3 separate regions of the Homo sapiens genome follow, and all the other regions are linked to region 2. Evidence: promoter capture Hi-C in human tissues and cell types (Jung and others, 2019). All regions are on one chromosome and are shown on one strand. Each heading gives the region's core, a stretch centred on a gene start or on the middle of the fragment in contact. The rest is flanking DNA. Distances are from core to core; before and after follow the strand shown. Region 1 overlaps SLC24A2 (solute carrier family 24 member 2). Region 2 holds the start of MLLT3 (MLLT3 super elongation complex subunit). Region 3 overlaps DENND4C (DENN domain containing 4C).

The links. The method cuts DNA at HindIII sites, captures the fragments that hold promoters and counts their contacts. A contact is called where the count stands out against the background at its distance.
Region 1: a fragment that was not itself captured here is called in contact with the fragment with the promoter of MLLT3 in region 2 in 1 of the 25 tissues and cell types used here (dorsolateral prefrontal cortex).
Region 3: a fragment that was not itself captured here is called in contact with the fragment with the promoter of MLLT3 in region 2 in 1 of the 25 tissues and cell types used here (dorsolateral prefrontal cortex).

What each region holds. Positions count from the first base shown.
Region 1 is chr9:19,548,196-19,552,635 of GRCh38, reverse strand. It overlaps SLC24A2 (solute carrier family 24 member 2), which reads left to right. Exons shown (of 11, transcript NM_020344.4): 8 at 2,368-2,499. The region is part of intron 4 of LOC105375988 (a long non-coding RNA gene); the gene reads right to left. Among named protein-coding and RNA genes, the nearest start is that of MAP1LC3BP1, 87 kb to the right of the region's middle. The HindIII fragment of the contact is 4,246 bases long and covers 1-4,036 here.
Region 2 is chr9:20,619,708-20,623,758 of GRCh38, reverse strand. MLLT3 (MLLT3 super elongation complex subunit) reads left to right here and starts at 1,260. Exons shown (of 11, transcript NM_004529.4): 1 at 1,260-1,514; 2 at 2,925-3,105. The coding sequence starts at 1,503. RefSeq lists silencers at 662-801, 822-1,281, 1,702-1,851, 1,922-1,971, 3,192-3,311 and an enhancer at 2,902-3,031. The HindIII fragment of the contact is 4,373 bases long and covers 1-3,943 here.
Region 3 is chr9:19,371,756-19,375,742 of GRCh38, reverse strand. It overlaps DENND4C (DENN domain containing 4C), which reads right to left. Exons shown (of 33, transcript NM_001330640.2): 32 at 3,923-3,987; 33 at 1,462-3,706. The coding sequence ends at 3,570. It overlaps RPS6 (ribosomal protein S6), which reads left to right. Exons shown (of 6, transcript NM_001010.3): 6 at 1-28. Among named protein-coding and RNA genes, the nearest start is that of RPS6, 6.5 kb to the left of the region's middle. The HindIII fragment of the contact is 5,326 bases long and covers 1-3,987 here.

The DNA.
Region 1 (4,440 bases), core at 664-3,163, 1.1 Mb after region 2:
TAGTGATGAACAGAGCTAGGGGGAGGCATCAATCTCAGAATGGGGAGGAGCCTTAATGAACTCATCAGCTTGATGGGTCTTCAGGGAAGCTGACTGACTCTCTGCTAGAAAAAAAAATCATCTCTCATGTGAGATGGGGTATTTATTAAGAATGATGCAGTACCCCAAGGCTCCCATGCCTATTTCTGGGGCATCTGCCAGGAGGTAAGGGGAAAGTCATTCATTTGGGTTAAACAAGAAGGATCATATCTGGGAGGGAACAGACAGGAAAATATACCTGTCTCCTTAATCCACATTGGCCCCATGACACAAAGATTATTCACGTAGCTAGCTGACACCTTGGGAGGCTGGTGAGCCCAATAGGGAATGATATTCTCTACACCTGCTATATCCACAAGGAAGAGACAGAGGTGGCATAGAAGAGGGACCAGAGCCAGCACACCAAGCTTCCACCAAAGATGGGAGCCCTCAGGATGGAAGAAAGAAAGCAATGGATGGAATAATATGTGAATTGCATAGAAAGAAATAGGGAGTGTGAGGTGTATATTTAAAAAGGATCCAGGGTACCAAAATAAACTGTCAACTTCCTGATGCTGCCTTATTATTATTATACCTAATCCCTTTAATTCCACCATATTTGCTGTTTACAAATTCTTTTACCCACTGCCAAGGACATATACCCAAAGCAGAAGAACCTGTTGTTACTAACCCTTTTCAATATGGCTTCGCATCCCTTTTTTAAATTATTATTTCAAATTGTAACTCCTAGGGAGAGTTGAAGAGATTGTATAAAACACTATACATACTTTCTGCAGTACCTCAGTTTTGCCAGATAAATAAACAAGACATAGCATTGCTGTGAGCCCGGCCTCTCACCCAGCCCTGACCTCTCCTCAAGGCCAGCTGACCTGAGCCTGCCCCTCATGCCACCTCTGTAGGGACACAGGTGCTGGAGGGGGGCGCTGTTACTGTTTGAAAAGTGTATGGTGCTGGAAGCAAGAGCCCCAGGGGTAGGAGCTTTCTAAAGTTATTTATATGGTCTCAAAAGGAAGCATCAGTGGAAAAGTTCCTGTTGATATTTTTAGATCTGATGCGTGGTCCACTGCTGCACTTTCATTTTCAAACAAGCAGGGAAGGGAGTGATTGATGATGTCTACAGTGCTGTTTTGGAAGTATTGAGGGCTCAGCTGACAGGCTAACGGTCACCCCCTGCTGGGCCCAGACCCTCCCCCTCCATCTCTTCTAGCCCTGACTTCAGAAGCTACTGACTTCAGTGGCTGACAAATAAAACGCTGGCCATTGGCTGCCAAGTCAGAGACTCTGAAGTTTGTTCCCTGGCTCCGACACCCCGTGCAGGTTCACTGTCTTGCTTGACTTGTATTTTCTGTTTCTGAGGACTGAGACATATGTTTGCATAAGTTGTCTTTGGCTGCAAGTACAATGGTTTAGAATTTAGCTGTGGTTAAGCAGGTGACCAACTCACAACCTGAGAAGGGTGTGGGGGTGACAGGGAGAAATGAAGAGAGGTCGGTCAATGGGTACAAACTTACAGTTAGATAGAAGAAATCAGTCCTAATGTTCCTTAGGAGACTAGGGTGACCGTAGCTAGCAACAACACACTATATATTCCAAAGCTAGAAGAGAGGGCTTGGAATGTTACCACACATAGAAATGATAAACACTCAAGGTGATGGAGGCCCCAAATACCCTGACTTGATCATTACACATTCAATGCATGTAAAAAATACATTTACCCCAGAAATACGTAAAATATCAATGAAAGAAAAAAACTCACAACTACACAAAAATCAATGCACTTAGCTATTCCAAGGCCAGTGGGAAGTTAATCTCTCTTAGTAGTATTACTGAATTGTTTCTGTGGTTACTTTCATTTGCCTGATGAAAATCAGTGTTCCAAAAAAAAAAAAAGAGAAAAAGAAATATTTTTTATCAGTGCTCTCCTTCCCAAGGAGCCTGAAAGCTTGTGACTCTGTCTTCAAGGAGAAGGAAAGATGGGGAGATGGTGGTCATCAAGTCTTTTCCTCCACAGATATAGTTTGTTATAAGAAGCTCGTGAATTGTAGTTGTAGCCCACTCCAGTTGAATAATCAGTTGATGAACATGAGAAACTGAAGAGCATTCAAGGAGATAAAAGAAAATTCTTACATGCTCATGGCTGGACAATGTATTATTTGTTCCTAGGACTCAGACTGTGACAAATCTCAAAATCACACATATGAAGCTACTGGAACGAGTCCAGAAAACTGATAAGACATGGAGCTTCCCCTTTGTTCTGTGCTCCTGTTGTTGTGCCTGTGTACATTTTATTTTTTTGTTTGTTTAATTTTACCTCTTTTTCTACCACAGACCGCTGATGAGGAGGAGGACCAGCCTCTCAGCCTTGCCTGGCCTTCTGAAACCCGCAAGCAAGTCACGTTTCTGATTGTTTTCCCCATAGTGTTTCCTCTCTGGATTACGTTACCTGACGTTCGCAAACCTGTAAGTAAAGCATTTTAAAAATAGTTCCCTTGTAAAACATATGGTACATAACAGGGTGCATAGTCTGCTTCAGTTTGTGTTAAAAGGAAAAAGGAAGTACACTTGTATCAAAATCTCACATATACCCCATAAATAGGTACAACTATTATGTAACAAGAAAAAATATTTAAGTTTAAGGAAAAAGAGAAAGTGACATTAAGAATATACAGATTTCTCTGAGCAGACACACAATCACACTGATTGTTCAGGTTATCAAATCTGCATAACAAACTACCCCAAAACTTAGTGGTGTGAAACAACCATCCTTTTAGTCTTTTCTTGGATCCTGTCGATCAAGAATTTGAATAGGGCACATTGTGGATGGCTTGTCTCTGCTCCATTATGTCTGTGGCCTGAAGTAGAAAGACTTGAAGGGTTATGTGTATCTCATCTTGGGGCTACCATCATCTGGAGGCTTCTTTGCCATTTCTGGCACCTGGGCAGAAATGATTCAAAGGTTAGGCTCAGCTGGGACGGTCTACTGGAATGCCTAAACATGGCCTTTTCATGTGACTTGGGCTTCCTCACAGCATGGTAGCCTCAGGATAGTGAAATGTTTTACATAAGAGGTCAGTCAGGACTCCAAGAGTGAATGTTGCAGTGACAGAAGGCAGAAACTGCATGGTCTGTGATGATTCAGTCCCAGAAGTTACATAGATTCACTTCTGCTATGCCCTATTGACCAAAGCAGTCCTAAGTGTGTCTTGATTAAAGGGGGAGGAAACAAAAAGTTTACCTAGAATACGTCAGTGTCATATAGCATATCACTCTCCTGTTGGGAAGAGTGTCAAAGAATTTGCAAACATGTTTTAAAACCCCCACAGCGTTTGTCTCTGAGAAGGTAAGAAGGGCAACTGAAGGTCTGAAGCAGGAAGGTTACTCACATTTTCTTGAACATTCTTGTGACTATCATTACTTTAATCGACTATGTTTACTATCATTACTTTAATCGATTTTATTATCTACCATTATCACATACTGGGTGCTCCGAACGCAACAACATCAGCAAATTACAACCTGAGTATAGACCAAATCAAGAGAATACACCCACCCACTGTTGTTGAAGTGAGTTCTTGGGCCATTGCCCCAGAGGTGAAAGAACTAAGGAGAGGGAAGGAGAAACAGCTCTACTTCTTAGTATAGGACCACACACACAAACTCATTCAACAAAACTGTATACCTAATATGCATCAGATTCTGCACTAAATGTTCCTCGTGAGAGTCTCATTTCTGTTTGGAACAGCACACAGTATACTCGGAAATACAGTCCATCCCAGGGCTGGCCCTTGGCGGGAGCAATGAGAGAAGTCCCAGTGGCTACCCTGGCCATGCTGCAGGGGCTGACTCTCAAAGGGGGACTGCACAGGGAGGAGAGCATTGTGGACAGCTCCATTTTCTTGTTAGGTGCATCAGCCAGGGCAGTCGTCATAACCAACTGCCTTGATTGATTCCTGTTGGTTTGCCACAGTTGCCAATCAGGAGACTTTGATCTGGTCTAATACCTTCTTGATCTTTCAACTCAGATTGGCAAGAGGATGAACATTTTGCCAGCCTTTATTCTAAAAGTCCTTCCCAACCCTGAGAGCCCAAGGCCTTGAGTTATTGGTCCACAGTAAACTATATTATGTAATTTCAGGAAACATCTAGGGTAGGAATATGTATATTGTTGGCATAAGTAGAAAGAAACTTAGGCACAAAGAAGTTAATTTATACCTGGTCATTTCCTAGAAGGTAGGGCTGAGATCCAGACCCAGGTCTATGTGACCACATGGCTTGGGCTTTGCTTCATATTTAGTGATGCCACAAAGTAGAAAAAAAAATCATTTAAAAAAAATCATTTCTAAAAGCACTTGGAATAGAATATTTTGATAACTTCCAGCATAATTTATCATAAGTCTTCAA
Region 2 (4,051 bases), core at 11-2,510:
ACCAAAGTCACATCCATCTTTCACTTTCAAATCAATCGTCTAGATCTTATCCGTTTCCTTTTTAAAGGTTATCTGCGTCTGTAAAGGAAGCCAGTAGTTGATACTCCTCTCCGCGCCCCACGCGTGGCCGCGCTGTTCTATCTCCGGCCACTGAGATCAAATACAACGCGAGTGAGAACATTTGCAGAGGCGCGACTCTGGGAACACTCCTGCGACTGGCTGTCACCCGGGAGTCTAACCGGATTAATACTCAGAGATGGATTACGCTGGTTGTCACCAATACGCCTAAAGATTATAATCCAATTTACGCACATTACAGTCAGTATTAACTTTATCTGCTATTTTAAGACTCCCGGTTGCCCCGCGCGTCCTCAGAGGACAATCCTCCACGTTCTGATGCAACTCAGTAGGCTGTCAGGAGGGGAAGCCCCCCGAAGAAAACAACTCCAAGCCTGGTCCCCGAGGGTCTGTACCCGGCACTCCCAGGTGTCTTGCTTTCACCTGGGCACCGCTTTATGAAGCTTCCCAGCCGGGGATTACCAAAGCGGAAGGCGTTCCCTTGCAAGGAAATAGCATCCTTGTTTCTCCCTTGTTCATTTCATTTTCAAATTTTCGGTGGCGGTGGCAGAAGGGCGGGGAGTGAGGGTGGCGGGCGGGTGCCTGTGAGTGGATGGGGCAGGGGGCCAGGGGATCGTTGCGGGTTAGAACAGCCTCAGTCATTGCTATTTTCATGCTCGTTTTTTGCAGGATGGCATTTCTCTCGCTCTCTTTAAGTAAGTTTGTTTGGGTGTGAGTTCTTGTCTTTTCAGCACAAAACCACAGAAATACGTGGTGGAAAGTAAAAGAAAGCCCACTCCCTCCTCCCCGTGCGTACTAGCTAAGGACTTGATTTAACACCCCCTCTCCGGCTGCTGAGGGCTCTAAGCAGTGGCTACATTCCAGCAGTTTTAATCCGTTTTTTATTGTAGGGCGAGCAGAGTTTACACAGGGGCTGGGATGGCTCCCCAGCTGGCCGCTCTCCCCACTCCTGCGTCCCCTCCCTGCCACCCCCCCAGCAGGAACCTGTTACTTTAAGCGAGGCTTTCCAGTGTGGCGCTGCGGGCCGCCGGGGTTTCGGGAGGTGGCAGGTGATTGGCTCTTTCGAGCTCCCCCTGGCTCGCTCGCTCTGCCTCCCCGCGCGCTCCGCCCCGCCCGCAAGCCCTCCCTCCGCCCTGTGAGGCTCGGAGCCCGGGTGTCAGGCGCCACGGCGCATGCTCCGCAATCATCTTCTTTACCCTGGAGCTGCTGCTGCTGCTGCTGCTTTTGCTTTTGGGGCTGAGTTTAATAAGCGAGCGAGCGAGCAAGCGAGCGCGGGGGGAAAAAGGCAGAGAATGTCCGCCATCTACCCTCCGCTCCTGGGCGCGCTCTCATTCATAGCAGCCTCTTCATGAATTACAGCTGAGGGGGGGCGGAGGAGGGGGGGGTACCACACAACACCCCAGCAAACCTCCGGGCCCCCAGGCATGGCTAGCTCGGTAAGTACGCGCAAAAATAATAATAAAAGCCCTCCCCCACTTTCCTTCCTCGCCCTGCGCCGCCGCAGCCCAGACAGCGCCAGCGCTCCGCGGTTCCAATTAGAGAAAGGTTGGTACGGCTTGCAGGGAGCTGCCGCCTCTCCCTCAGCCTCCGCTCCCCTCCTCCCCCACCCCCCCCCGGCGCGCACACAGACACACAGACACACACACACTCACACACGCTCACACTCGCCCCTCCACCCCCCGCGCCTCCCTCCCTCCTCGCCTCTTTGCAGTCACAAGAAGCGCACTCACACACTCCCTCTCGCTCACACGCGCGCACTCACACACACACACACACACGGTGGAAGGAGGCGAATAATAACTCAGCCATATTTCAGCCGCCGCCGCCGGGAGCTGCGGGCACAGTCCGGGGACGCGGCGAGCAGCCTCGGCGGCCGCACCTCCGCAAAGCGCCGCGGCCGCTACGATGGTGCGTTCTCCGCGGCGCGCGTGTGTGAGCCGAAGTGTGCGGGGCTGACAGCGGCGGGGCCGCACGCAACTTTGCCCCAGCGCCGGGAGGTGCTGAGCGCGAGCCGAGGCTCGGCGGCTGTCCGCCCGCCGCCCTGCCTTTCTGAATTTCATTTTTTGGGGGGAGGTGGGAGATACTTTGGAGCCACTTGGGCTCTTGAAAGTGTGTTGCGGGGGCTCGGTTCGACTGGCCTCGCCGATCGCGTGGGGCTTTTCGCTGGGGGGTGCGGGGTGCTCTAAGTTATGGATGCCTCGGCGTGTTTTCCTGCGGGCGTGTGTGTGTGTTTCAGTGTGTATGACGACGTCTCATTTTTGTTGTGCACGAACCCCGTGGCAAGAGCACGGGAGTTTGTGCCCATCAGCAGAGGCTGCCTGTAGTTTCCATTTCGCCTGGCACAGCGCTCCACACGCACGCACACACACGTACACAAAGACTTCCTCGGCGTGTGCCTGTCGCCGCGGTACTTTCGGGGAGGGGGCTCGCCAGGAGCCCTTCGGTCCCCCTGGGTCCCAGCCACCTCCCCTCCCACGCCGGGAAACCGCCCCGGCATCGCCTTCTGATTTGTTTCCGATGCATTTGTTGTCGTGCTTGTCGTGGCTGAGTGTGTTCTCCCTCTTTTCCCCGACCCCCTTCCCGACTGGGGATAACATTCCGTTACAATCCTGTCCGATGTAGATGCGGGGCCCGGGGCGCCTGGGGCCAAGCCGGGCCGGGCGGGCGGGTATATTTGGGGGTGTGGAGTGTGCGCGCCCACGCGCGTGAAACGTGGATGCAGAGGGCACCGCCGTTTCCTTTTATGTGCGTTTCAAGAAGGAGGAAAAAAATGTCAGGCGCAACGTTCACTGCCGAAACCTCGCCTTCCTGTTATTCACGGCTGTCTCTCCTCCCCCTGCCCGCAGTGTGCCGTGCAGGTGAAGCTGGAGCTGGGGCACCGCGCCCAGGTGAGGAAAAAACCCACCGTGGAGGGCTTCACCCACGACTGGATGGTGTTCGTACGCGGTCCGGAGCACAGTAACATACAGCACTTTGTGGAGAAAGTCGTCTTCCACTTGCACGAAAGCTTTCCTAGGCCAAAAAGAGGTAGGGCTCGAATACAAAAGGGTCTTGATAAAAAATGTCTTTGAAACAATCGCTTGGCCCGGGCGGTCCCGCTGTCCCGCTCCCCGCCCCCCGCGCCGCGCTCGCCGGCGTAGCCTCGGGATCCGGGTGCGCGGCGCCGCGCGGGCCAGGTCCCGGCTCCCGCCTGCCCGCGCGCGCGCCACTTCGGCTTGGTGAAAGTCACCGCAGAGAAAGGACCGTCAGGTGTCGAGTGTTTATTCATCCCAAGCCAGCCCTCACCAGTCCTCTGGGGTTAGCCGCGGGTTCTGTGGGGAAGGTGCAATTAGTTGTTGAGTTTGGAGATGTGGGGAATCGGGCTGGAGGGAATAAACACTTTGCGCGTGTGTGTGTGTGTGTGTGTGTGTGTGTGTGTGTGTGTGTGTTTTCCTAGAGAAATTAAGATTTACCTGTGTTATTAGCAAAGAATGTATTGGATGTAGTTATTGTTCGGTCTTGGCAAGTCGGTTCTCTTTAGGGTCTTCTGTGCTTTCCTGTCTGTGTATGAGGCACCAGGTGCCAGTTGCCATAGACTTTTCTTTTTGTGGCTTAGCCACCGCCACACCCACTCCAGTCTGGATTTTATGTTTACTTGGGGGGCTTACTCGTTCCTCCCTCCCACCCCCGCGTGCCACTTGACTGCTCCTTTGATTCTGAGCAACGTTCCAAAGTGTCTGCCGGATGTGATCTGCAGGGAGACTGTTCTTGCAAAGGTCGAAGCTAAGTTGAAGAGGAACGATGTGGAGGAAGCCTTTTGCTTTAGTCCCTCCCCACCTTGGTTCTTAGCCTTGGAGTCTAGTTTGCATAATCCTACTGGGCCTCTGTGGTCCCAAACATTTTCCATAATGGGCAGGACAGTTTTGGAAAAAAGAAACGGAGTGTCATTTTGAAAGAAATTTAAAGAGGGTTTGAGAAATACCGATTTCTTTTC
Region 3 (3,987 bases), core at 891-3,390, 1.2 Mb after region 2:
CTAAAAACATTCTTGGATCAGTGAAAAATGCACAAAGTATGTACTTTTTTCTAACAGTTCTATGCTGACTAGCCTATTGTGACAATATCAGGATCTTTAGAAGGTGGCACATTAGGCTTTAAGGTTGAAGTAATGCAAGCTCTTTGTTGGCATTACTGTAATAATAGCTTTACAAAGCAGAGTTCTAAATGTTAAATGTACATGTGAATCACCTAGGGGTCTGGTTAAGGCGCAGATAGTGATTGATAGAGGAGTGGGGACCCACATTTTTACATTACTAAAAAGCTCCCAGGTGTTAGGCCGGTAGTGCCAGTCCCTCGATGCCTACTAAGATTCTTAACTATTCCTCTTACTACATGGTGTTAAAAAGCTACATAACATGAAAAGAATCTTAGTTGGCAATCAATAATAATATGCAGAACTTAAAAGGCAAAGGGGATGGCCAGGTGGGGAGGCCAAGGCAGGTGGATCACCTGAGGTCAGGAGTTCAAGACCAGCCTGGCCAACATGGTGAAACCCCGTTCCTACTAAAAATACGAAAATTAGCGCATGCCTGTAGTCCCAGCTACTCGGGAGGCTGAGGCAGGAGAATCGCTTGAACCAGGGAGGTTGAGGTTTCAGTGAGCCAAGATTACACTGTTGTACTCCAGCCTGGGCGACAGAGCAAGACTCCCATCTCAAAAAAAAAAAAAAAAAAAAATTTAGCACAAGCAGAGAGAGGAACTTAAAAGCCACAAGGTGAGTCCAGTGTTATGGTCCAAAGTTTTATATTAACCAGTTCTTGTTTATGATGCACAAAACATGAGAACCGCCCTGCTTTCTGAAAATTGAGTGCAGCCACAAAATAAGGACAGTCTGTTTTTCCTTAGATTTTTTTTTTTCTTTGACACAGGGTTTCACTCCTACGCCCCGGATGGCGAGCAGTGGTATGGCTCACTGCAGCCTTGACCGCCTGGGAACTACAGGTGTGCACTGCGGCTAGTTTTTGTGCTTTTTGTAGAGTTTTGCTATGTTACCCAGGCTACTCTTGAACTCCTGGGCTCAAGTGATCCGCCTGCCTTGGCATCCCAAAGTGTTGAGATTACTACAGGCGTGAGCCACCATACCCAGTTCTCCACACACACGCAAGTCATTCTGACATGTCGTTAACTATGCAGGTTGTGATCAACCTGTACAATTCGTTCGTTGGAAGAAAAAAAAATCGCTATCGAACCCCAAACCAATATAAGGTACTGCTGAGTAATCTGGACTAATTTGAAAGATTGCTTTTAGAAGTTATCAGGATTAAAGTTGCATACAGTGCTACAAGTCATTCCAGGTACTTCTAAATCTTTCCATAATAATGTTTTTGTCTTGTAAATTTTTAGTGGTACCCTCTCTGTGGTGGGTATTGGAAAAAGCCTTTAAAAATTTATAACAAGAAATCAGTCCCAATATCTAAATGGCAGCAGCAGACTAAAGTTTTCAAGGTAGAGATCTTTACAGATTTTTTTTAATGGGAAGCGCGTCAGTAAGTGAAAACTTGAGTTCAAGTTACGAGTGAAGGAATGGAAAAAACAAAATATTGGGATTCTAAAGATTACAGATTTCAAGAGGCTTAATGTAACAGAAAACAACAATTTTTCATTTTATTCAACCTCAATTTTTATATGCAAGGTAATTCCAAACTTCTGTTGGGTCAGTAAGTGTTAAGTATTAAAACTAGTACCAAGTCTTGAGTTGCAAAAATATATACTCTCAGACAGTGCAAAAGATCCATTTTGAAGGTAATGAAAATTGTACATAATTTCTGACAAATTGTTTCATTTAGCATTTTCACAATAAATTCACACTAGAATTCTGCATAGGTCAGATTAACCCTGAAATGTTGAAAGACTGGTACAATAACTATAATTTGTAAATGGTTACATCAGGTAGAAGGGAGTTAGGTTGTTACTGTACCATATGGAAGTAATTTTACTGTGTCAACTCATTTAGTCATCTGCATAATTACTGTAAACACACACAAAACCAATGGCTTTTTAAACCATGCAGAGAGTTAAGGCAAACTTACTGTTCCTAAGGGATATTTTTAATAAAAGGCATGATAAATGTCAAAGTGAGGCATGTGAGATCATGATTTTCTTAAACCTACTGGCAACAAGCTTAATAAATTTACAGTTTTAAGACTTAATTGATTCAACCTAAAAACACAGTATTTACAAATGCACATTTTTACTCACAAGCATACAAATCTAAATATACAAGAATAAAACTTCCGTGTGCAGTGCAAGTTTATCCCACAGGTTTTAAAAAGTCATCAATACCAACAATGTATGTGCCTGAAAAAAGATTTCATGTTCAATGACATACACTTTAGCATTTTAAGCACATTCCAATGAATTCCATAAATTATTAGGCAGCTGATTTAATTTCATTTTAACTATCTGATGATTGATTCATTTGTTCCCATTTTAAAACTATTGCAAATTAACATTGGGAAGAGGATGGAAGTAACTGGATAATCAAGATAAAACCCATTAAGCAAGATAATACATAATATGAAAGGTGTATTATGTTGGTACAAAAATAATTGCGGTTTTTGCCATTAATAGTGGCAAAAACTACAATTAATTTTGTGCCAACCTAATACATTAAAGTTAGGGAAGGCAGCTGTCATCAGATTTTCAGGTAATTTTAAGATTAATGACTACAGACAAGTTTAGTAGTAGTCATTTATTTAATAGTCAATGAGACCCCTTTCAGAAAACCGTATTGCAACATGCAATCTATTTTAATAAATATACACTTAGAATATGGCTGTATATACACATACCTACACAGCCCTACACATATACAAACTTACACAAATATGTTGCTCTCTTTTTTTTTTTTTTTTTTTTTTGAGACGGTCTCACTCTGTCACCCAAGCTGGAGTTGCAGTGGCGTGATCTCCACTCACTGTAGCCTCTGCCTCAGTTCAAGCGATTCTCCTGCCTCAGCCTGAGTAGCTGGGACTACAGTGGTGCGCCTGGCTAATTTTTGTATTTTTAGTAAAGACAGGGTCTCACCGTGTTGGCCAGGCTGGTCTCGAACTCCTGGCCTCAAGTGATCCACCCACCTTGCTCAGCCTCCCAAAGTGCTGGGATTACAGGCCTGAGCCACCGTGCCCGGCCATGTTGCTTTTATAATTGAGATATTTCATTTGTTTTGGGGGTTAGGCAAATTTAATTTGCCATTCCTCAAACTCAGTAACTTCAAATATAAACAATGCCTAGAATGAATATGGTTCCTCATTATTTCTATCAAACTACTACAAATACTGAAGAATCCCAAAGTAGTTTTCCACAGAGGCAGAAAAGCAGTTCAGGGGTTGAAAATCTTCAATATTAATAAGCCCTGGGACATTCAAATGGCACTTCATATTTCAAGGTAATGCAATATGAATCATAATTCATTATATATTGTCCCCAAGAGTTACTTCAATTCCGTATTCACCAGTTCTTACGATTTGGAAAAAAAAACTTGAATGTTTCCAGATGAAATCTAATCCCCAAGCCTTGTGTGTCAACATTCTAGTGAATCTCTATTTAAATGAGAGGCGCTCCAAAACACTTCCTGCACCACTCGACACTGGCACTTGGTGGAGCATCAATTTTCTGCAACCTTTCAAGAATCTCTGAAGACAGACTATTGTATGCAATTCCATATTCATTGTCAAATGCCTCTGAAAGAAATTTTCAAAAATGAAGTTGTAATTTGTTAAGAAAGACAACAGCCGTTCATTTCAAATTGGTATTGAGTCAAATTATATGTATTTGAACTATATATTTAGAAGTAGAAATCTTTTAAATCTTTTATACATACCAGCTACATTTTTAAAAATTACTTTTGAAAATAAAATGTAAAACTTCCTTTCATAATCTTTTATTAACCAACTTACCAATATCAATATTCTCTCTTCCTAGAGACACTAATGATAAGAAGAGGATTTCTCTGTATAAACTC